4 separate regions of the Homo sapiens genome follow, and regions 1, 2 and 4 are each linked to region 3. The links are contacts of gene promoters, found by promoter capture Hi-C in blood cells and fetal thymus (Javierre and others, 2016). All regions are on one chromosome and are shown on one strand. Each heading gives the region's core, a stretch centred on a gene start or on the middle of the fragment in contact. The rest is flanking DNA. Distances are from core to core; before and after follow the strand shown. Region 1 overlaps DIAPH3 (diaphanous related formin 3). Region 2 holds the start of LOC124903178 (a long non-coding RNA gene). Region 3 holds the start of PCDH17 (protocadherin 17). Region 4 overlaps DIAPH3 (diaphanous related formin 3).

Region 1 (2,700 bases), core at 13-2,512, 2.3 Mb after region 3:
TAAAAAGGCCTCAGCTGCACAAAGTTTAAAAGCCCTGCCCTACAGTGACACCAAATGGTGGTAGATCAAAATACAGCACACAAACAGGACATTTGTTCGATTCAATCTTCCTATAAATGTTTGATTTCTTTGAAGAACAGGAAGCTTAACAGAATTAAATAACGTGGAGACAAATACTCAAAAACCTAGAATTTTTAATCAAAGAAAGTCTAGTACACCAAGCTTCAACTGCAAATTTTTAGGCCTCTTTCCAAACTTCAGCTAATCTTCTGATCCCACTGAATATTTACATAAATCATTTCTCACAGTTAAAGCATGCCACTGTGAACACAGTGATTTTACCTAATAGCTTATTGATCAAAGAAAGCCTACAAATACAAGAAATGCAGTCATAAAACTAAAGTCAGGCTCTACTCCATCGGAATCAACCCTTGGTAAGTAGGTAATATTTTGGAAAGATGGACGAGAAGGTGTTGGGGATAAACAGGGATGGAAAGAATCCAAGAAGAGACACAAGCAATGACTCCAATTAATGACAAAGTATATTTTCATTTGTTAATCTAGTGATAGAAAATTAAGCTGAGTAAAAGAGGAGGCTATTGCCTCTCAAATATACACCAATTTCTCCACAAGAAAATTTTGTCCTGGACTGTCCAGGGAAAAGAATATTTCAAATTAAGCACATCAGTCAGTATTCAGTGTCCTCTGCCCAGAACCTAAACCAACAAAAACAGCATGTAAATGGCCTTATTCATTACAAGCCACTATAAAAAGATACAGAGATAGACCACCTCTCAGGGCACTCCTCTAAAACACCATTTGGCCAGGATCCTTAGTCTTTTAGCATTAAATGAGAGTTTATTGGATTTTTGATGTGTTACTTTTCATATACCAAAATCTCCTAGAAAACACAGGACATATAAATATATGATCATCTACAAAAAAAAGTCAATAATATAATTAAGCTCTAAGGCCTTGAAATCATATAACTGGATTTCAATCCTAATAGGTACAAGCCAACTTACGACCACATGTTACCAGCACTACTTTACCCCACTCATGGATAATCAGCTCTAGAACACCTTGAGAGCTATCCTGATCAAATGAGTGCATGTCCAGTGACAAGAACCACAAGGAGATCAGTTCAAGAAGGTAACTTAAGTTTCTGAATTACTATATAAGTGACAGATGAACAACTAAGAACTGAGTACCACAAAAAGTATCCATGTCTACTACATATACATTTATGACTTAATTAGAAAGAGAGGTAATATCAGCATTAAATAATTTTGCTTCCAATTTCAACAGAGACATAAATATGAACATGAAAGTCTATATTACAGAAAATGTGAAAAATTAGGCACATCACATGGTTTAGTGGTTAGAAGTTTCAAGGATATACAATTTAATAGAAATTGACATAATTCCCACAGTAAATTTGTATACCATACTCTACAGGATATAGAGCCCTAGAAAACTGTATCTAAGTGATACATGATAAAAGTAAGACATATGGCCGGGTGCAGTGGCTCACACCTGTAATCCCAGCACTTTGGGAGATCGAGGTGGGCAGATCACAAGGTCAAGAGATCAAGACCATCCTGGCCAACATAGTGAAACCCCATGTCTACTAAAAATACAAAAAGTTGGCTGGGCTTGGTGTTGTGCACCAAGCTGTAGTTCCAGCTACTAAGGTAGCTGAGGCAGGGGAATCGCTTGAACCCAGGAGGCGGTTGCAGTGAGCCGAGATCGTGCCACTGTACTCCAGCCTGGTGACAGAGCTAGACTCTGTCTCAAAAAAAAAAAAAAAAAAAAAAAAAGTAAGACATTTCCAGTATACAAACTATTTCTGATATATGCTAATTGACCTTAATTGACATTGGTTACTAATATTTTAGATGTCTTACTTTTACACCCTGCCTTTCTATCAAAGAGGAAAATAACATAAACATCAATATCCTGGTGGAGCTACATCTTATGTTTTTTAACTAATTCTTATGGAGAATTAAAGTTGATTATATAATGCAAGCAACTTGACTGAATTTAATCTACTGTCTCAAGTTAGGGTATCAGTTTAAATAAAACACAACCTTTCAGAAAAAATTGTAATTAATATGAATCAAATTAATGAATTCACATAACTGGATAAAAGAAAACTTAAACTTAGTGGCAAGTAAAAACTGTAGAATTTTAACTAATTTTTGTTCAAATGAAAATGCTAGAAATCATAACATCAGTCTACGGAACCTAAAGATGAAAGAGTTAAGAGCTAATTTTTCTACAGTGAAAAACAAATGAAAAGTCAAGCTTTGGTCCTATTTGGAGCTGGGAAAGCACTAACACTACCCCAAACTCTTGACTTTTTCTTATATCTAACTGTGTGATGATTTTTCAGGTAAAGATGATTAGCACATTTCTAATGTACTTTAAATCTAGGCTAAATCAAGAAGTAAACATGTTTTTAAGGCAAGGATGTCTTGTAGAAATCTGGAGTTTAATTCACTTCAAGTTAATTGCCCATTTTTGATACAAACACTTCAAAAAGTTTATTACTTTAAAAATGAAACATTATTATGGAAGTCTTACAGAAATACACTTGGCAATTATAACCAATTTCTTAAAATCATCAAATTACTGTATTATTGATAATGTTGATAAACTGAAAACACATCATTCTTTAGTAAGTTAGCAAAGGTTTTT
Region 2 (3,069 bases), core at 137-2,636, 2.8 Mb after region 3:
TTGTTATCCCTACTCTCCAACAAAAAACAAATGTCAGAAACCTTTAAGCTAGTTTAGTATCTCTTCAGGGTCTTAGCTTCAACAGGAGTATAATATTTTACTTGTGAAACAAGGTTGTCATCTAGTGGTGCTTTCAAGTAGTACAGCTTTCACAATTAGCTAGCTGATAGTCTTCAGCTTTTTAAAGGAAGTGCTTAACAAAAAGCTATCTAGGTTTAACTTTTCAGAATTTAAACACTTTTGAATACTGTTAAATTAGATATAAACTTACAAAGGATTTTCCCTAGAAATTTTTTAAATTTCCATCTCAATTTTTAAAATAAATTTTTTGTTTGGCTACTGAAATACTGATATTTGACCAGTGTGGATGTTAACCATGATGATATCAAGGCATTTCATATTGTTTTGCATCATCAGAAGTTGTTTATTTAGAAGAAGATTCTTAAATAGTGTTAAGTAATTAAAAATTTTTTTTTGCATATTAATCCTTTCACCAGCCTGAGCAACAAAGCAAGACTATCTTTACCAAAAAAAAAAAAAAAAAAAAAGGTGGAACTAATGTATATTTATGATGGCAAAGAAATCATAAAAACTAAAAACTGAAAAAATAATGCATATTAATAGATAGTTGATTAATGAGTAAAATAAATCTTATATTGAAAGTAGTTTACTACATTAAGATTAACACTACATGCTGGTACTTAGAAGTACTTTAAATAGTACGTACCTTTATTTATCTGATCCATTTATATATAAGCCACAGAGAAAATTAAATTTTTAAGCTAGCATTGATTCAAGTCCTGGTTTAATTGTTGGAATACAGATTGTGGTATTCAATGTGGGATAGGAAGTGGCTACTTTGCCTAGACAAGAAAAGAAAATGTGGTAATATTAATAGAAGAGGTACTTAGTTGTTAAGGGAAACAAAATAAAAGACCTCTTTTTTCATTTTCCACCATTTTTCATAGTACTCACTCCTCTGAATTACCTTTTGTAGAATTCTGATCCTTCTGTTTATTATGCTTAATAGAGCTTTTGCCATGGAATTCATGGATTCATTCAACTAACTGCTGGTGTTCCATTTTATATTCTCATGTGCTATCTTTCCAATATATCTGTAAGCTGTATTGAATATATTGATTTTATTTTTAACAGGTTATCTGAAGAAAATCTTGTGCCCCAATTCTTACTAGCATTTTTACCTTACTAATCTTGTTATTCATTATGGCAAAATACTGTATTTTCCCAAGTTATATTCATAAACAAGAACTTTCAAGCCATTTTCCTTCTGCCCTAGAGGAGGGAATTGGCAAGTTAATTCTTTCAGTGTCTCTGACTAGGTATAGTATAGTAAGAGTCTATAAGAATAATATATAAAACAAATTTTTGGCAGGTGTATTACAATCAATTTACACTATGGAGAGAGAAACAGTTTAGGCAGAGTGAACAGAGAGATCTTCGTATGGGTAATTTTTAAAAAATATCTTTACAACATTGAAGTTTTGGGAATTTGCAGTAGGTCAGTTACTTCCATATTTGCTAAGATCAAAAATATCCTTTAATAGAAGTTATTTTTTAAATTATCTTTTATGTTTTTTCCCTCTCTTGTCCCACCTTAGCTTGGGTAATTGGGAATTAGTTATCTTTATTTTCTTTGTGGCTAAGCAAGAATTCATTTATCAAACTCCCATTTTGGTATTTGGATATCATGTGCGGGGGCTAGTAACCTCAGTGTGGTAGCAGATAATCAGGTGTAGGTTAGAACCCCAAAAACTGCATGAAGCCATTTGATTTGGGTTTTATTCAGGGGCAATTAAGAACACCATGTACCAGTCACTGTCCAGATATCTTCTTATTTTTTTTGACATAGTCCCTATCCATTTGTGAAGAATGTTTTCACTCTTGGTTTTCTCATTGGCATTTTAAAGACTTTTCATGTGTCATCAGCCCAGTTTATATCAATGTGCAATAATTCTGTATTTTATTATTTCAGGAAGTCAAGTTGCAGTTCAGATTTGAATGGGCATTCATTATTTCAATGGGTGGCAGTGGGTAAAAGAGAATAAAACTTTAATGTTTGCTTTTATGGCTCACTTTCTGGCCAATTAAAACATTCCTCCTCCTTAAAAATATAAGTAGTCCTCAAAGTCTGAAGTAAGCATGGGTTCTTTATATGTCCAGTTTGTAAAATATTTATGTCAATGACCAGACTGAATGATTTGATACTTTTTAGTGTGATGTAAACAACTCACCAGAGAACATTTGTTACAGGCATAATTGTGTTCTTTGCTCTCCCAGTGCGTACAAAGTGACCTAAAAGATACTTGGTTCTTTTCTTGCTTGGAAAGGAAGTTGGCTATGAATGTTATACTATCTGAGGTACACTTACGGCACAACACTGTATGTCAGAGACAACTTGGAAGTGAACAGGAGCAAATAATTTAAATAAACTAATGTGTTTAATAAGTACAAAGTACATGTACCACATGCAGGCTGAGCCCTGTTTTGTTTGGCTTGTACACTGCTTTACGGAAATCTAAAAGCTAAAAATCAAATCTGACGCAGTAACTGCTTTACTAGTCCTCGTGCAGACATGGCTGCCCCCTTTAGCTCAGTCAGCTGATGTGTAGTTTGCCTTGCTCCGTTTCATTATCTATACATTATAGCCAGTGAGTAAGTTAGATTCACCGATTTTACCTGCTTTCAAAGAAATGGATCAAAAGAAAATTGGCCCTCTTCTTTCCTTACTGATGGTAAAGGGTGGTAATGGAGATCTACTATCTGGAACAATGAGTTTAAAACAATAGTGTTTGTTTTATCACAGTTTTCTGCCAATTGAGATTCTTGAGCTATGGTTTGGACATGTCTGTTTTATATGCCAAGTGACTTCTGAACACGACGTGAAGACAGTTAAGTGATTCTAAGACGGAATTTTGACATCTCATAAATAGAAGCATTTACTAAAGGAAGCATTTTCTAAAATCCCTTTTTAAAAAGTTTTGAGCACTTAAGGCTGGGTGTGGTGGCTCATGCCTGCAATCCTAGCACTTTGGGAGGCCGAGGTGGGCG
Region 3 (2,754 bases), core at 199-2,698:
GGTGATCCCGGCAGACACCAGACTGAAAGAGACCACCCGTGACAGAAAAGGAGGAATTAAAAAAAAAAAAAACCTCCACAACAGACTGCACAATTAACTGTACACATCGATGTTGGACTTTGTGAATAGAAAAAATTGAGAGGAAAATCTTGAACTATGATGCGAGGCTAAGCTGGGAACAATTACTGGAAACCTGATTTTGTTTTTCCTTTTCCAAGACTCTGAAAAATTTCGGGGTACCTCTCGCCTAACCAAGAGGAAAGGTTTAAAAAAAATAAACAAAATAAATAAACCAATACACCTAGCAAAGCAGACGCCTTGTTTTCCAGAACCTCGGACTCCGGCAGAAAGAGGTAGAGTAAAAGTGCTGCTAGATTCAGCTTCACCTTCTTCCCTCCATCCTTTTCTCTTGCATTTTCTTTTTCCCCAAAAACATGAATCTGGTTTTTCTTTCTATAGACTGAGTCAGAGAAAGCGTTAGGAAGAAGCCGCAACTAATGTCTGTGAAGGGAGGACCATGAGGCGAGAGTGAATACGATTCGTTCCGCTGCTTCTGACTCATCCGGCAGATCGGAACACCTGCATTTCTGGATGTGTCATTCCCGTATGTCGAGGCGCCTCCAGAACCCGAAATAATGTGTAGACAGACCTGTGTCTAACATCCCCTCGGAGGGAGCTCCCCGGGGTAGGAGCCCCTGGCTGGACCGCCGCGGCCGCAGCTCTGCACCCCCTGCCCTCCCTGAGTCGCCCAGAAAAACTGAAAGAGAGACTGCAGAATGCATCACGCCAAACCTTGATGTGTTGCTTTCATCCAGCCCACTCCTCCTACTATAAGAGAAAATTGAAGGAAAAAAAAAAACACGTACTTTATTTGCTTCAAATATTCATCACTTTTATTCCTCGCCAAGGTTTTCTTTTCTAGATGAAGAGGACTGGGAGGCAGGGCTATTGGAAGGAGATGCTGAATAGAAAGAAAAGAGGCACTTGACAGCCCAGCCCTGTGAATGCAGAGACTGTTTCCCTTCTAGCGAGAGACAGGGAGAGTGTGTGTGCAAGGACTGGGAGGGAGGCTCCCCCTTCCTTTTTATTCGGCCTCCCCCCTCCTCCTTTAAATGTGCACGTCCAACCATGAGTTGCCTGTTGATTTCCCTTCGCCTGGGAAGAAAAGCAAACTGGAATTAAACTGCTTGGAGAGAAGTCCTTGCTCGCGGGGAGAGGATGGGATGGTAGCGGAGGCTACTGGCTTGGCGTAGAGAAATCAGAGAGTGTGTTCTACGAACAGAGGCGAAGATTTATCTCTCTACTTCCCCCCTCCCAATAGACTCACACAGCAAATGCTGATCAGGCTGTGGCTTTCTTGATTTCGGGGGAGAGCCTTTTCCGAGGAAGAGAGGGAGGAGCCTGGTGGGGAGAGGAAACTACAAATCGGGACACTAGTTCTTTACGCTGCATTTCCTCCCCTCCCTTTGGCTGCTCGGAAAGGAGAGAGAGGAAAAAAAAAATACGCTTGGCTGGTAGATGCAGTCCGCCGCCGCCGCTGCCTCAGCCAGCAATGCAAGATTAGATCTCTAAATGCAGCAAAACACTGCCTGAAAACAGACCGGCCCGCGCAGCAAGCAGACATTTCACGGTGCGCTGGGGAAGCTTCAAAATATATCTGTGACTCTGTCTTCGTTGCTCTTCATCCCCATCAATTTCATCACGGGAGGCGAGCAGCAAGTAAGAATTTCACTTTCGGATCTGCCTAGAGACACACCTCCCTGCTCCCTCCCCCACTCGATGTGAAGAGTATTCCGGAGTCTCCGGGCGGGAGTAGATTTGCAGCACCCTAGCGGGAGCGAGGAAAACCTACTGATTCTTTAGCTCATTATCATCTCTCCCAGACGAGATTTCCTTCTTATCGCCTGCCTCATCGCTCAAGTTTGAGCCTCCCGAAGTCCGGGCGGGAGAGACGAAACCCCTGGCTCACCCCCAGCCGCAGGAAGCCACCGCCTTGCTCCAAGCCCCTGCAGCTCTGCTGCACCGCAGCTTCTCACCCAGTGCGGATGCTGTAGATCAACAGGTTCAGGGAACTTGAGCAGAATAAGGAGAGACCACCGGGTGCCGCAGCTCGGGTGCAGAGGGAAAAAAGGACCCATAGACTTGTGGCTCGCGTCGCGCGCGCACGCTGCGCCAGGGCCCCAGGCTGGCGCGCACTCCCTCTCTGGCTCCTCCAGTCCGATTGCTCCTGCCCCCACCTTACAGGTCTGGGATGTACCTTTCCATCTGTTGCTGCTTTCTTCTATGGGCCCCTGCCCTCACTCTCAAGAACCTCAACTACTCCGTGCCGGAGGAGCAAGGGGCCGGCACGGTGATCGGGAACATCGGCAGGGATGCTCGACTGCAGCCTGGGCTTCCGCCTGCAGAGCGCGGCGGCGGAGGGCGCAGCAAGTCGGGTAGCTACCGGGTGCTGGAGAACTCCGCACCGCACCTGCTGGACGTGGACGCAGACAGCGGGCTCCTCTACACCAAGCAGCGCATCGACCGCGAGTCCCTGTGCCGCCACAATGCCAAGTGCCAGCTGTCCCTCGAGGTGTTCGCCAACGACAAGGAGATCTGCATGATCAAGGTAGAGATCCAGGACATCAACGACAACGCGCCCTCCTTCTCCTCGGACCAGATCGAAATGGACATCTCGGAGAACGCTGCTCCGGGCACCCGCTTCCCCCTCACCAGCGCACATGACCCCGACGCCGGCGAGAATGGGCTCCGCAC
Region 4 (2,700 bases), core at 21-2,520, 2.0 Mb after region 3:
ACATACATTGTCATACATATGTATCCTATCAGGATTTTAAAAATATTTCATGCAAGCCTATGACGTGTTGTTGAATATCAGTGTTGAGAGCTTGTTATGAACTTTAGAATGCCTATTAAAAAAATGCTGTAGAGATTGCTTGGCTGCTGGGCCTCAGGGCAGAATCTGCTGACACATTGCAAGCATTTAAACTCATAGATTAACGAAGTTGGTTCTGACCTCTGTTCCTTGAGGTAGTTAGTACCCCAACAATTAGACCAGCAGAACTTCAGGGATGCTAATCATACACTTACTTGCAGAACCCTGTTATTAGGATCTAAGAAGACTTCTTTCCTTAGTCTTTTTTTTTTTTTTAACTCAATCAATGAAAATGCAGCTATAAGCTATAGCCACTAGAGGTCAGACGGCTACACCTGTCACCAATCATTAAATTTGATGGGGCATTATAGTTCCCTGAATAACTTTTGGTGACTTAAAAAATATAGAACAGAGTACACTCATTTACAACTATTATGGTAAAATAATAATATGTTTATTAATTAATTATTCTATTTCTAAAGGTCTTAGATTTTGCAATGGTACTACTTTTCTCTATTGGCTTTCATTTTATTTGGAAGGGGAAGGAAAACATTGCAATAATGGAATCTAGAAACCTTTGCAATTGATGGAATCTCATGATACGAAAAGACCGCTGTCTGGAGTAGAACACGGAAGCAATGTGTTCTGTAGTTTTACCAAACACATTTGGTAATGCAACTCTTACGAACCTTCCGATCTGAATCATTTTATTTATCTAATCTAATCTCTTGCCTTTTTTCTCCTGGTATATACAAATCTTATTGTACCTAGTTATAGCTTTACTTATTAAAGATTATTATAATGGGAGGTGTTACTCCTTGTCTTTCCAATGAGGTTTATTATGTGGCATATCACACATACTTTGTTAAAAAAACAACAAAATGCCGGGCTCAGTGGCTCATGCCTGTAATCCCAACATTTTTTTGGGAGGCAGAGATGGTAGGATTGCTTGAGACCAGGACTTTAAGATCAGCCTGGGCAATATAGTAAGACTCCGTCTCTACAAAAAATTAAGAGAAATAATTAGCCAGGGCATGGTGGCACACACCTGTAGTCCTAGCTACTTGGAAGGCTGAGGTGGGAGGATCACTCAAGCCTGGGAGGTTGAGGCTGCAGTGAGCCATGACTGCACCACTGCACTCCAGTCTGGGCAACAGAGTGAGAGCCTCTCTCAAAAACAAAAAGATTAAAAAAAATTTTCAACTATAACACAATCCACAAATAAGGAACTCAAATTTAGTTATAACAAAATTATGTTCACTTTCTCACCAACTTATTAATAAAATAACTGTTTTAAGTGTTTTTTTTTTCCATTTCAGGCTATATTTTACAAGACTCATTATAAAAACAATACTAGTATGTTAGAGCACTTACTAAGTGCCAGGTTTGCACAAAGTGCTTTACAAAAATCATCATGTAGCCTAAGAAAGTATGATTTTTATACTCTCTAATTCACAATGAGGAAGGAGGCTTTGTGGGATTAAGAAACCTGTTCTAATTAAGAGGCAAGTTAGGGTGGAGCTCTGATGCAAGCTCAAGTAATCCAATTCAGCTCCTGGCTCCAAACTATAGCACTTTAATAACATTTTTAAACTGTAAATGCTGTAAAAGAAGCAGGAAGTATTTCTATATCAGTACAATGAACCAAAAAGAAACTATGAGACACTTCATTTTTACTGATATTGCTTCTGACAAATATCCTAAAAATATAGTTAGCTCTCTAGTTAAAGAGAACCAGGAATGTTAATTTCCAGGTTTTCTGCTTATATGGTACAGAGTACTGTCCATACTTATCTTTGCTGTATATCTACTGACAAGAGCAGCAAAATTTATGGCCCAGGTTCACTAGTACATTGGAAAATATTAGAAGCTAGTTATTTTGATGTTATTATACATAAATCCTCACATTTTAACAAATACTACCCAATTTGTACGAAGGGTCCAGAGTCATAAAATTATTTTTCAGTTGTTTTCTTTTTTAACAAAAATGAGCTAACCACAAAAATCTTGCTCTATTATTTATTTAATAATCATTTATTGACAGGGTCTTGTCTGTCGCCCAGGCTGGGGTGCAGTGGCACCATTATAGCTCACTGTAGCCTCAAAATCCTGGGCTCAAGTGATCCTCCCCCTTCACCCTCCTGAGTAGCTGGGATTACAGGTGTGAGCCTCCATGCCTGGCTTCAATCTATTTTAAAGGTTAAAGTTTTAGCATATAGTTTTCTCTCACTAGCAAGCTATGCTTTAGGACACTATTCTTCTATTAGGAAATAGTGCAGTTTCTTAAAATGCCTTTAAATTTTTTAGCTGTACTTATGCAGAAAACTCTATATAAAATACTGCATTAAACTCTATATATAATACTGCATAAAACTGTCTGTATAACAAGGAATACCCTATTCCCTAGTCTGAATCATTGTCTATAATAATCTTTCATCCCTCAAATCTCAATCAAATATGACCTCCTGATTTTCCAAAACATAGCGATGCCAACTTGTATTGTATTTCTCTCATATGTTTTGTATCCTAGTTAGCCTGGTGTTGTAGTTTTTTGTGCCCCTGCCTCATACTCAAGTCTAGTGATGACCATAAACTATTCAAAGTAGAGTCTATGTACTTCCC

The links. The method cuts DNA at HindIII sites, captures the fragments that hold promoters and counts their contacts. A CHiCAGO score of 5 or more calls a contact.
Region 1: a contact is called between a fragment that was not itself captured here and the fragment with the promoter of PCDH17 in region 3, in 1 of 17 cell types (endothelial precursors). The highest score is 5.7, in endothelial precursors.
Region 2: a contact is called between a fragment that was not itself captured here and the fragment with the promoter of PCDH17 in region 3, in 1 of 17 cell types (naive B cells). The highest score is 8.2, in naive B cells.
Region 4: a fragment that was not itself captured here is called in contact with the fragment with the promoter of PCDH17 in region 3 in 1 of 17 cell types (endothelial precursors); the score reaches 7.5 in endothelial precursors.

What each region holds. Positions count from the first base shown.
Region 1 is chr13:59,906,575-59,909,274 of GRCh38, forward strand. The region is part of intron 20 of DIAPH3 (diaphanous related formin 3); the gene reads right to left. Among named protein-coding and RNA genes, the nearest start is that of DIAPH3-AS1, 100 kb to the right of the region's middle. The HindIII fragment of the contact is 2,085 bases long and covers 221-2,305 here.
Region 2 is chr13:60,431,177-60,434,245 of GRCh38, forward strand. All of the region lies in intron 1 of TDRD3 (tudor domain containing 3), which reads left to right. It overlaps LOC124903178 (a long non-coding RNA gene), which reads right to left and starts at 1,044. Exons shown (of 3, transcript XR_007063814.1): 1 at 989-1,044; 2 at 728-863. The HindIII fragment of the contact is 7,370 bases long and covers 1-3,069 here.
Region 3 is chr13:57,630,296-57,633,049 of GRCh38, forward strand. PCDH17 (protocadherin 17) reads left to right here and starts at 1,449. Exons shown (of 4, transcript NM_001040429.3): 1 at 1,449-2,754. The coding sequence starts at 2,252. RefSeq lists an enhancer at 1,956-2,635. The HindIII fragment of the contact is 2,681 bases long and covers 1-1,642 here.
Region 4 is chr13:59,680,226-59,682,925 of GRCh38, forward strand. The region is part of intron 27 of DIAPH3 (diaphanous related formin 3); the gene reads right to left. Among named protein-coding and RNA genes, the nearest start is that of DIAPH3-AS1, 330 kb to the right of the region's middle. The HindIII fragment of the contact is 6,478 bases long and covers 1-2,700 here.